4 separate regions of the Homo sapiens genome follow, and all the other regions are linked to region 1. The links are contacts of gene promoters, found by promoter capture Hi-C in blood cells and fetal thymus (Javierre and others, 2016). All regions are on one chromosome and are shown on one strand. Each heading gives the region's core, a stretch centred on a gene start or on the middle of the fragment in contact. The rest is flanking DNA. Distances are from core to core; before and after follow the strand shown. Region 1 holds the start of WNT8B (Wnt family member 8B). Region 2 overlaps PKD2L1 (polycystin 2 like 1, transient receptor potential cation channel). Region 3 overlaps PKD2L1 (polycystin 2 like 1, transient receptor potential cation channel). Region 4 has its middle 2.6 kb from the start of PKD2L1.

The links. The method cuts DNA at HindIII sites, captures the fragments that hold promoters and counts their contacts. A CHiCAGO score of 5 or more calls a contact.
Region 2: a contact is called between a fragment that was not itself captured here and the fragment with the promoter of WNT8B in region 1, in 2 of 17 cell types (endothelial precursors and M1 macrophages). The highest score is 5.7, in endothelial precursors.
Region 3: a fragment that was not itself captured here is called in contact with the fragment with the promoter of WNT8B in region 1 in 4 of 17 cell types (total CD8 T cells, activated CD4 T cells, total CD4 T cells and 1 more); the score reaches 6.1 in total CD8 T cells.
Region 4: a contact is called between a fragment that was not itself captured here and the fragment with the promoter of WNT8B in region 1, in 6 of 17 cell types (total CD8 T cells, naive CD8 T cells, activated CD4 T cells and 3 more). The highest score is 7.3, in total CD8 T cells.

What each region holds. Positions count from the first base shown.
Region 1 is chr10:100,461,509-100,464,422 of GRCh38, forward strand. It overlaps WNT8B (Wnt family member 8B), which reads left to right and starts at 1,501. Exons shown (of 6, transcript NM_003393.4): 1 at 1,501-1,728. The coding sequence starts at 1,661. The HindIII fragment of the contact is 5,936 bases long and covers 1-2,658 here.
Region 2 is chr10:100,295,973-100,298,886 of GRCh38, forward strand. It overlaps PKD2L1 (polycystin 2 like 1, transient receptor potential cation channel), which reads right to left. Exons shown (of 16, transcript NM_016112.3): 4 at 2,590-2,843; 5 at 1,410-1,634; 6 at 1,008-1,236; 7 at 150-320. Among named protein-coding and RNA genes, the nearest start is that of BLOC1S2, 11 kb to the left of the region's middle. The HindIII fragment of the contact is 1,682 bases long and covers 617-2,298 here.
Region 3 is chr10:100,312,082-100,314,995 of GRCh38, forward strand. The region is part of intron 2 of PKD2L1 (polycystin 2 like 1, transient receptor potential cation channel); the gene reads right to left. Among named protein-coding and RNA genes, the nearest start is that of PKD2L1, 17 kb to the right of the region's middle. The HindIII fragment of the contact is 2,321 bases long and covers 294-2,614 here.
Region 4 is chr10:100,331,344-100,334,257 of GRCh38, forward strand. No RefSeq gene overlaps it. Among named protein-coding and RNA genes, the nearest start is that of PKD2L1, 2.6 kb to the left of the region's middle. The HindIII fragment of the contact is 661 bases long and covers 1,049-1,709 here.

The DNA of each region.
Region 1 (2,914 bases), core at 251-2,750:
TAAATCGTCTGGCCTAGGTAATGGAGAAAGTGAATTTGTGTATTAATTCTTTATTTTCTGGTTCAGTCTAGCCAGAGAGGGTTTTGGAGCAAGAGGAACAAGGTTAAAAGAAAAGAACAAAGACCATTGTCTCAGGGAGACCTTAAGAAAGGTGATGCGGATGCTAAAGTAGAAGGTGTGAAAATAGTTAGAAAGAATGAAGAAGACCTAGTATTCAACAGCACAACAGGGTGACTATCGTCAATAATAATTTCATTGTACATGGTAACTAAGAGTATAATTAGACTGTTTGTAACACAAAGGATTAATGCTTGAGGTGATGGATACTCATTTACCCTGATGTGATTATCATGCATTCATTGTATGCCTGTATCAAAATATCTCATGTACATGTACTCCATAAATATATATACCTACTATGTATCCACAAAAGTTAACTGAAATTTTTTTTAAAAGATGGGGCTATATGGCTACATAGACATCAGTCTGGAGCCCTTTGAGGATCCCCAGTGCTGTGGCTGAGGCCACCCTCCTCCCTAGGGAACAGAAGGAGCAGAGTCCCAGAGAAGTGTGAGCGAGGGCCTGGGTGCCCTCCTGGCTCCGCCACCTGAGTTTAAGAAAGTAGGGATTTTGAGATCACCTTTGTGTGCCTATTGAAATCTCTTTCCTTCTTCGAAACTCAAATTCTACCTTCTTCAGAAAACCTCCCCTAAATAAGCCTACACTATTATAGGCAGTTTGTAGCTTTCTAATACTTTATTAAACTGCGTTATTTTATTGTCACCTTACTAGGCTGTAAATGTTGTTAGGGCAGAAATCATGTTTTGGTTTTTAAAAATTTCCACAATGCCTAGGGTGGTGTTGAGAATAAAATAGGCATTTGGTAAGTAATTGTGTGATGAAAAAGTTGAAAGGAAGAAAAAACCATCGGGCTTCCTGAAGTTTCTAGCCTTTCTAACTTAGACAGAGAATACACTAGATGGTAGGACTGCATCCCCACATTCTCAAATCAGAGGGTGGAGGTTCACCTGCACCTGGTGTATTTTTTTCTGAAAAAACAAAACAAACAAAAAAATGCTATCCTGAATGCAAATTCAGTCTCAAAGTGCTACAGAGGACAACCAGGAAAGCACAGTCCTTTCTGGATCCCTTTTGGGGACCAGGCTGTGTGTGTGTGTGTGTTGTGTGTGTGTGTGTGTGTGTAAGTGTGCATAGGTGGGAAAAGGTTGTGGTGTGATGGGAGGGGATAGGCAAGAGGGAGGAAAGAGACTCCATGCAGTGATTATGTGGAGGGGATTTGCTATGTCTCTTCCCCCCGCTTCTTTCTTTGTCCTCTTTCTCCTGGTCCCCTTCTTCTGCATTTGTCTGGGAGGATCCTGGAGTGTTCTTTTGATCGACTCAATCTTTCTCTGGCACTTGAGTTCTGATTGGCTGAAGGACTTAGAGGGGAAAAAAAACTTTAATTAAGTAGATAATCTCTTCTTTGGACGTTTGGCAGCTCCATTTCACCTCCCCTTAACTCTGTTTGGGATCGCTTACACACCAAGGAAGTTGGGCTTTGAGAATTCCATCCCACTGGCACTGAGGAGAATATTTCTCCGTCTTGCTTACCCATCTCCCAGTTTTTTGGAATTTTCTCTAGCTGTTACTCCAGAGGATTATGTTTCTTTCAAAGCCTTCTGTGTACATCTGTCTTTTCACCTGTGTCCTCCAACTCAGCCACAGCTGGTAAGTAACCTGGACTCTTACCTGGAGCTGGGAATAGGTAAGTGTATGTAATGTGTTGGGTAAAGCTCATTTCATTTCCAGAAATGTAGGAAGCCTTGATAGCTCTCCTAGGAAAAACTGTTCTATGGGGTAGGGCTCTTCCTAAATTTATGGCTGATTTTAGTGAATCTTTAGGACCCCTACCAATAAAGGACTAAATGATGGGAGCGGGGGTTCCTATTTTTATAAATTGCTATTCCACAAATATTCCCCCAAAGTGATTTGGGGGTAAATGGACAGCAGCCCTTTTCACGAAATCCTGATGTCAGCATTGTAGAGAGGAGGAAGGTAGTTCAAAGCAAGTTCTACCGTGTGTTGAATCTGATCTTGAGGTAAAGTCTGGAGACAAAATTCAATGGGATCTTACTTTGTACTTTCTGACTTTATTTTTTTTTTCAGGATATTCTAAGTAATTGCTCAAATTATCATTTCCTAGACATAAAAAATTTTATTTGAACCACTAAGCAGGCATTGGGTTAACAAACATGTTTGAAACCAGATATTTTAGAAATCTAAACGTCTCGAGAAATTTATTTAATTTGTTCAATTTACAAATATTTCTAAATTGTTCAGAAAATCAGATAACGTATATGAAAGTGCTTTGTAAATTATAAACACAAATGCTAAAGAATATCATCACCATTCTCATTTAGCTCTTGGAAACCACATAAACTATCTATACATGCAACTGTTCATTAGCAAATACACCAGTACACAATAACATACAGAATGCAGGTTGCTAGGGTGTTCGGAGTTTCTCTCCAGTTCAGATATGAGCTCAGTCTCTCTCTTCATCAGCTCTCATTTTGACCATCTATTTAACAAAGATATAAATCCAATTGCTACATAAACTGTTGAGGAAGCAGGAAAAGAAATTTCTTTGCTGAGATAAGCTTCCTTTGAGAATTGAAAATACATTTTTATCATAAATGAGTGTAGCCGTCTTTATAGGAGTGTTGATAGGAAGTATGCCAACTTCATAAAACTATTTGCAAGTTAATACAATAATTTGCAACATTTCTGATTATAAGCAGAACCACCAATTAGTCCATTTTTAATTGGCATTTTAATTAAATATTTCAATGTTAAAAAAAAGGTCTCTCTTCTCTCCCCCTCATGAGAACAAAAAGACAAAAGGGAGAGGAGA
Region 2 (2,914 bases), core at 208-2,707, 170 kb before region 1:
TTGCAGTGAGCCAAGATCGCCCCCACTTCACTCCAGCCTGGGCAAGAGCGAGACTCCATCTCAAAAAAAAAAAAAAGAAAAAAAAGAAAAGAAAAGAAGGGAGAATGAGTGCGCCTTGAAGCAAAGCTGGGTGTGGGAATCCCAGGTACCTTGATCCAGGCGAAGAAGAGGTTGACAGCATTCATGTTGTTGTACTGTGTCTGCCAGAAGGCGAGGAACTCAAAGTCTGCATACGTGTTTGGCTGCTGCAGGAGCTTCCCCATGAGCCGATTCACCTCGAGGGTTCGGAATATGTGGAAGCCCACAGCCACAATGGAGAGCTGTCACACAGGGGTCATGGGGGTGTCAGAGAAGGCAAGGGGATCTCAAGGGAAGTTCCAAGATGAGGCCCCAAGGGAGAGTCAGGGTAGGTAAGACAGGTGGGAAAAAAGCCATCCTTGCTGACTTGTTCACTATCTCAGTTTCAAATGGAACTTGGTAGGATGACTGGGGAGCATCTTAAGTGTTCCAAAGCCCAAGAGAAGGCATTGGGGACAATGGTAAATATTAATGTATAGATTGTAAAGGGCTGTAGGGAACTGGAACCAGTCATTTCCTTCCGCTCCCACCACTTCCAAGCTTTGGTCAGGAATTGAATGTGTCTTGTTAATAGGAGGGAGATGAAGATGAAGGGGCAGAATATTTGAATAGAAGACAAAAGGCATGGGTTTCCACAGAACAGGTCATAAAGACAAAAGACAAGAGAGGAGCAGAATATAGTACACTAAAAAAAAAAAACACAGGGCTCAGATGACAGGTGAGGAGGAGAGGAGATGTGAGAGACAGGGTTTCCCAAGGGCTGAGAGAGGGGAACATGTCCCTCTCACTTAGGGAGCTGTTAAATGATGATTTGACCAAAAGTCAGAAGGAGGGCTTAGGGCTCCAAAAGGAAGAACCTGGAGCCCCTATTAGGGTGGAACTCCCTCCTCACCCCAGAATGTCCCAAGTCCTAGATATCTGTCCCTCACCAAGATGACCACCAGGTCCAGTATGTTCCAGATGCTGCTGAGGTAGCGAAGCCGGTGAATGTGGAGCTCCAGGATCTCTTCCACCACATAGTAGAAGATGAAGACGCAGAAGATGACCTCACAGCCAACGATAAAGAAGTCCCAGTTGCTGACATAGCGGATCAGCTTGACTGTGCGGATTTGCCAGGATGGGATGGCACCTCCTGTAGCTGGAAACTCCACCACCAGCCTATAGGGGGAGGGGGAGATGACCTCCAGTGGAGCCTTCGCTGGGACGGCTCCTCCCACTTCCTCTCCTCTCCACCCCCACCACAGGGTAGGAGTTTAGGGAAGGGTCTCATGCACAAGAGACGGGAACCAGGAGCCATGGACAGGGTGATAAAGTAGGGAAAGGGGGCTCACCTCAGGACACAGAAAAGATTGATATTGGCATTGTAGACTGAGAAGTCGATGAACACCACTCGAGTGCCCCTGTCCAGCCACAGCCCCTCCTGAAGGGCCCGGAGAGCCTCTGCACTACCCTGTCGGGATCCTGGAAGGTCCAGGTAGTAGCCACCTCCGCTGTAGCTTGTGAGCCTGCCCCAGTGGGAGAAGCCCCCCAACTCATCCTGCGAGTGGTATGTCCACCTGCCACAGAAAATGCCAGCTGAGCCAGCCCAAAAGTTCATCTCCCAAGGCAATGGCAATGCTTTATCATTGTCTGGGCTTTACAGGTTTACATATTGTGTGTGTGTGTGTGTGTGTGTGTGTGTGTGTGTGTGTGTGTATGAGATATGTGATATATACATATATAATGTATCATTTATTATTCTGTTTGATACTAACAACCATTTGAGAAGGGAGAGTGAATATTATCCACATTTTGCAGAAGAGGAAACTATGAAAGAGGTTACCGAGATAATCCAGCTATAAATGACAGAACTGAAACTCAAATGTAAATCTGATTTTTCACTATGTCACTCAAAGATTTGGATGACAAAGCCAAGCCCCACTTTTGGCCCACCTTGAATAGTCCCCCTAAGGGAAGCACCTGGACCAGGAGGAAAAGATCCTCCAGCTCTGTGATTGCACATCAGGCTCCTTCACCCCATGTTTCTCCATTCTATCCACTAAACTTTCTACCCTGGGTGCTTATTTCCTCCCTCTTCTGTCCTGTCCACCCTTTCCCCCTTCCTCCCTAATTTGTCATCCATCCTTGACCCCTTGCTGCTCCACGTATCAATCTCAAGGGTTGGGTTCTTCAATTTCACCCATTTTGTATACCCCTAACCAACTTCTAGGCAAGAAAGGAAGCTTTCCCTGGAAGGACTACGTGCAAGGTAGGACAAGTGTGATTGCAACCTGTCTGTGGGAACAAGTCTGGAGGCTATTGCTGTGTTTGCTAACCTACCTCCTCTGTTCCTGAGTGACACAGACCAAGGTCCCCAAACAGTCACAGCTGGGATTCAGGGAGATGCCCCCAGAAGTCCCTTAAAGAGCTCTGAGGCTCTTTAAGCCTCAGTGGAAGTGGTTCCCAGACCTTGGGATGGTGTCAGGTTTAGAGGGGCAAGCCCTGTGATATTGGTAGGACAGGCTCACTCACGCTGTGCCATTGAAGGGCCCAAAGGGGAGTTGTTCTTCTTTGTCTGGAGAGTAGACATCATAGCAGCTCAGAATGTCCTCCCGGAAGTCTTCATGCACCACACAGGAGTCATTGCGGACCTTTAGCTGCCGCAGCCTCGGAACCCCCAGCAGCATGTTCTCATAGTAGATGAAGGAGTGGGAGCCATGGCCCAGGCTCTGGTTGTTGTACCATTTGGTCCAATACAAACTGTCCAGTAGTGGGCCCTGGGCAAACTGAACCACAAGCTGGCTTGAACCTTACCCAGCCTCCTCCTGACCCCCTACCTTTAGAATGACCTTTGCCC
Region 3 (2,914 bases), core at 204-2,703, 150 kb before region 1:
AAATAGTTCATGTGTCTTAAGACAGAGAGTAGGCAGAGGAAAGTAGGAACCTGGAAATGAGGGAAGGGTTAGATCCTCAGGGTATACACTGAAGGTTGTTGAAACCGTGCATTTCATATCAGTGTGTCTACAGAGACTACAACTGAGAGAACTAGATTCACTCACATCTGCTTCAGTAACGAAGTCTATGAGCATTATTAAGCTTTTTAGGGCTTAGGTTCAGAAGATTCTGGTTCTAGAGAACCTATGACACATGGCCAGTTTCTTCTTGGGAAATTAGATTCAGAGCCAAAAGCTTTTATGAGTTGCTGTTGAAGGAAAAACAAACAGACTGATGATGATTATTCTGGAAAAATGGAAATGAATCCAAGATCCTGTTAGTGATCCCCCTGAAGTTTCTAGTAGCTCTGAGATCTTAGCCCAGCTGGAAGAATAGACCTATAGATACTTGTCCATGCTGAATCAATATAATAGAGTCTCTCAGCGGATGGAATACTGAAATCAGATACCTAGAAGACTGGAGATAGGAGTAGAGGACAGGGCATAAGGCAATCAAACAAGGAGGCTGCTGGAACTTCCCTGTTCTATTCCATTCTGAATGCAGAATCCAGGGAGAGCAAAGCAATTGATTCTTATGGATTCAGTATGGCTTTAGCTGATGGCTTGTAAATTCTCATGTGGTTTCAGAATTGCATAAAGAGTTTACGAAGACAGCAATCAAACCAGGAAGTCAACAGTCCTGAGGAAGATGAAGAGTCTTCTTCTCTAGAGTCATCCTGGAAAAATACGGCCCCCTAGATAGCATTGCTTCTGTGTGGCCCAGAAACCTCGAGACATAGCATGAACTTCAGTTAATGTCATAAGAGATAAGGTAACATTTCTGCAGCTATGGTCTCTGCGAAGGAGGGCACACTGTTTCAAAAGAGCTGAAGACACCAACTGTAGTAAAACGTAAAAGTCCTGTCTTTGTACAGGGATTTTTCTGGCTGATGAGGCAGCGGTGATTCCACACGCTCCTGTAGAAGGTTACAGAGGAAGAGTTGCACTTGCTCTTACTGTCCTTCTTTGAGCTATTTTGCTCAAGATCTCCCAGAGACTGGTCATTTTGGAAAAACTAAAGCTACAAAGAGTATACTAGTGCTGAGACCCGGAGACTTTTTGCTGCCTAAATCTAGCTGAACCAAAAAAATGTATTTAGTGCTAGAAACCAAGGAAGCCTGAGAAGAGTAGCCCTTGTTAAAAGGTGCCCAAGCTGGAGTCTTTGAACATATGGACCCAGAAAAGACAGGAAACCAGGCAGGAAAAACCTAGTGATTACATACACAAGGGGTCACCCCAATTGGATTGCCAGTTTCATGCACTGTCTTAACAAATGATAAGGGAGCGGTAACTAAGTTAATAGAGTTGGTAATTAGTGATTTTACTATACAGAAGTCCTGGCTTTTACCTGTAATTGTGCAGTATAAGCTACCTGGATCAATAAGATTCTGTGAGGATTACAGGATAATCAACACCATGACCGAACCATATGTTCATCCAATGCCAATAATCGATTCTCTCTGGAGTTACTGGGTCTACCCTCAACATTTTGAGGAGTGCAAACAGTTTTCATTTATTTGAGTTATATCTATCTACCCTCAATAGACCCTTTAACTCCAGAGAGAATTGATTACTGGCATTGGTTCAATAACCAATCAATAATTCATCATTGTTTCATGAAGTGTTGCAAAATAAAGGCCATCCAAGAAGACTTTACGCAGACAGATTTGGTCACCCCAGAGAGATACATCACCTTCTTTACCAAGGGCTTTCTCTCTCAGTACACAACAGGAGGCTCTCAAATGGTTCCATATAAAGGGAAATCATATTTAAGTAATTAATAGTTGCTTGATTTATAAACAATTTATTTGTAGGTAATTTTTTCATTTTAGTAATAGAGATGGGGCTTTGCTAGGTTGCCCAGGCTGGTCTTAAACTCCTGGACACAAGCAATCCTCCCACAGACTGCTGGGATTACAGGCGTGAACCACCATGACTTGCCTGCAAATAATTTAAACAGAAACTATGTTATCACCACTTGGAAGGGTATGAAATTCCTGAAACACCTTTATCAAACTTTTCCTGGGGTTCAAGAACCAAAAGTGGAAAATATGATTCCCTGGAGTTCCCAGCAGGGAGAGCCCTTTAAAAAAAAATCTCAAGAAGCCATAGGCTTGTACCCAGAACAGGAAGACATGGAAAAGCCTGTGAGACAAAGGACCAGGGAGAAAAGAAGAGGAGTCAAAAGCTGTGGGCAGAGGTAGGCGAGAAGAAAGCAAAACAGACCAGTGCCTGGGGAGAGAGAAGAGAGAGAAGGAAGCAGGCACGGGGACAGCCAGTCCAGGACCGAGAAGTATCCAGCAAGAAGCACTGTTTCTGATCCTGGGCTTCTCTGCAGTGTGATTTATCTTTCACAAAGTGCATCCAGAGATCCTCCTTCACTGACTTTATTGCCATTAGCCATCAGCACTTTAGGGGAGCCTCCTATACTACATTTATCACAATCAGCGGACGTTCCACCTCACAGACGGCATTGCTGTTGACTTTACACATCCTTCTAGTGTAAACCAACAGAAGCTTCTTTATCTAAAATTCATGTATATTTATATATGTCTAGAAAACAATTGAAATGGGCCGGGTGCGCTGGCTAGCCTGTAATCCCAGCACTTTGGGAGGCTGAGGTGGGTGGGGATCACCCAAGGTCAGGAGTTCAAGACCAGCCTGGCCAACATGGTGAAACCCCATCTCTACTAAAAATACAAAAATTAGCCAGGCGTGTTGGTGTGAGCCTGTAGTCTCAGCTACTCCAGAGGCTAAGGCAGAAAAGAAAGAAAGAAAGAAAGAAGGAAGGAAGGAAGGAAGGAAGGAAGGAAGG
Region 4 (2,914 bases), core at 129-2,628, 130 kb before region 1:
ATGGGGCTGATCCCACAGGTTGTGGTGGTCACCCTGCAGTTTCTCCTCCTTGAGGCTAGAGCAGAGACTTTCCTCTCCTAACTCCTGGCTCCCCACCCAGGGCTACTCACTGGCCTGAAGCCCACCTTCACATTCAGCAAAACATCAGCCTTGTCAAAATAATCAGTCTTGAGTGTCCCTATAAAGAGATCTTGGCTGGGTGTGGTTGCCCACACCTGTAATTCCAGCACTTTGGGAGGCCAGGGCAGGAGGATCACTTGAGCTCAGGAGTTCAAGACCAGCCCGGGCAACATGGTGAAACACCGCCTCTACAAAACAACAACAAAACAACAAAAATTAGCCAGGCATGGGGTGCGTGCATGTAGTCCCAGCTGCTACTCAGGTGGCTGGGGTGGGAGAACCACTTGAGCTGGGGAGGCTGAGGCGTTGAGGCTGCAGTCAGCTGAAATCACACCACTGCACTCCAGCCTGAGCAACAGAGCAAGACCCTGTCTCAAGAAAAAAGAAAGAAAGAAAGATAACAAGTGTTGGCAAGGCTGTGGAGAAAAGGGGCCCCTTGTATGCTTGGCTGTATTGTAAATTAGTACGGACATCTTGGAAAACAGTATGGAGGTTCCTCAAAAAACTAAAAATAGAATTACCATATGTTCCAAGAATCTCAAAGGAATTGAAATCAGTGTGTTGAATAGATGTCTCCTCTCCCATGTTCATTGCAGGATTATTAATAATAGCCAAGATATGGAAACAATCTAAGTATCCATCAACTGACGAAAGGATTTAAAAGATGTGGTATATATGCACAATATAATATATTCAGCCTTGAAAAAAAAAACACAGAAAATTCTGTCATTTACGACAACATAGATAAACCTAGAGAACATTATGTTAAGTGAAATAAGCCAGGCATAATGAGACAGATGCCCTATGCTCTCACTTATATGTGGAAACTAAAAAAATTGAACTCGTAGAAGTAGAGAGTAGAATGGTGGTTACCAGAGGCTGGGGGTGAGGGGTGTGTGAGAGGGGAAGAGAGTGGTCGATGGATAAAAGCTTTCAATCAGGCAAGAGAAATATGTTCTGTTGTTCTGTTGCACAGTGTGGTGACTACAGTTGATAATGAGGTACTGTGTACTTCAAAATAGCTAACAGAGAGGATTTAAAAAGTTCTTACTACAAAGAAATGATAAATATTTGAAGTAATGAATATGCTAATTCACCTGATTTGATCACTCCACAATGTATACATGTATCAAAATGTCACATTGTACCTCATAAGTATATAGAATTATTATTTATCAATTAAAAATAAAATAAAACTTTAAAAAATGGAGCAAATGGGCCAGGCACAGTGGCTAACATCAGCACTTTGGGAGGCCGAGCTTGAGACTAGGAGTTCAAGACCAGCCTGGGCAACAAAGTGAGACCCTGTCTCTACAAAAAAATCAAAAAATTAGCTGGGCATGGTAATGCATGTCTGTGATCCCAAATACACAGGAGGCTGAGGCAGGAGGATTGCTTGAGCCCGGGAGGTCAGGGCTGCAGTGAGCCGTGTTCATGCCATTGCACTCCAGCCTTGGTGACAGAGAAAGAGCTTGTTTCAAAAAAAAAAAAAAAAAAAAGCAGCAGCAGCAAATGGAGGCATGAATAATGTGAGGTAGCCTATTTTAATGGTATAGACACTAAACATTATGAAGTTTAGGGGAAAAGGAAGCTTCCTCTGGAGGAAATGAAACAGAAGCTAGATCTTGATGGATGGGCGAGGTTTGGGAAGGAAGAGCCCCATCAGGTTTGGATGGGAAGGTTTGGAAAAGAAGAGGTTCCTTCTAAGCATAGGAATGATAGGTGGGGTCTTGGGGCTCTGAAGATGTCTGTGATGCCCCTAGGGTTGTAGAAGACTGGCCCTTAGTGCAGTTGGGAGAAAACAGAGGAGGGGGAAGGCCTGAGGTTGCATAACGAGGGTGAGGACCTCTGGTGGTCCCTATTGCCGCCGAGAACTGTGGTGTGCGTGAATCCCTTCAGAGACCATGGAAACTACCAGCTATTCAGAGTGGTTGAAGAACAAAAGGAGGTGGCTTCTGACCAAGTCAGTGGGAAGGAAATGACAAAATAAGAAGAAAAGGAAGGGTTCTTTTTCATTTGGGGCACTCATCCATGCTAATTTTTCATCCATAAAGAAATGAGTAGTCAATCTTTTCATGCTTCCTTTACCAAAAGGTGATTGAATTTATTTTATTAATTCATAGCCTATGTTTAAGGGAAATATATTATTTTGAGATTTTTATTTGTAGTTTAAATGTTTCTTGGGGGGTTGGAGATTTAAGGTAGTCCCAGACTTCTTTTAGATTTTTCCTCCTTATTATAGTTTGTATAAATATTGATCCAACCTAGATATAAGCTATGGGTAGGAGGAATCTTTTTTTTTTTTAACTATAGAACACAGCATTCCAGAAAAACCTCATTTCCATTGGTGAATGGCTATTGGCATACACAAACCTGGCATGTGGTTGAGGAGAAGGGATGCAGCTGACGTGAGAAAATCTTGAGAAGAGAGCCATAATCCCGCTTCCAATTCACTTGAGGTTTTGATGTATGAGGAAAGATGAAAAGAACTGTATGTGGGTAGGCCTGGCTGAAGAGCTAAGGAGTGCAGGTGCATGTGTGTGGGATGGGGTCCTGACAGCCATGTGCAGATGCATGTGTGTGGGATGGGGTCCTGACAGCCATGTGCAGATAGTTGAAGGCATAAGCCCCAAAGAAGGAGAGGGATTGTGAAGGTGCTCTTTAGGGGATTATCTAAGGGTAATGAATGAACCAAAGGGGAAAAAAATGTTTCATCAGAACTTTCATCATGGGTAAGATGTAAGAGGCTATAAAACAACCTCCCATGAGAGGTGGTGAAATTCCCATCCCTTGA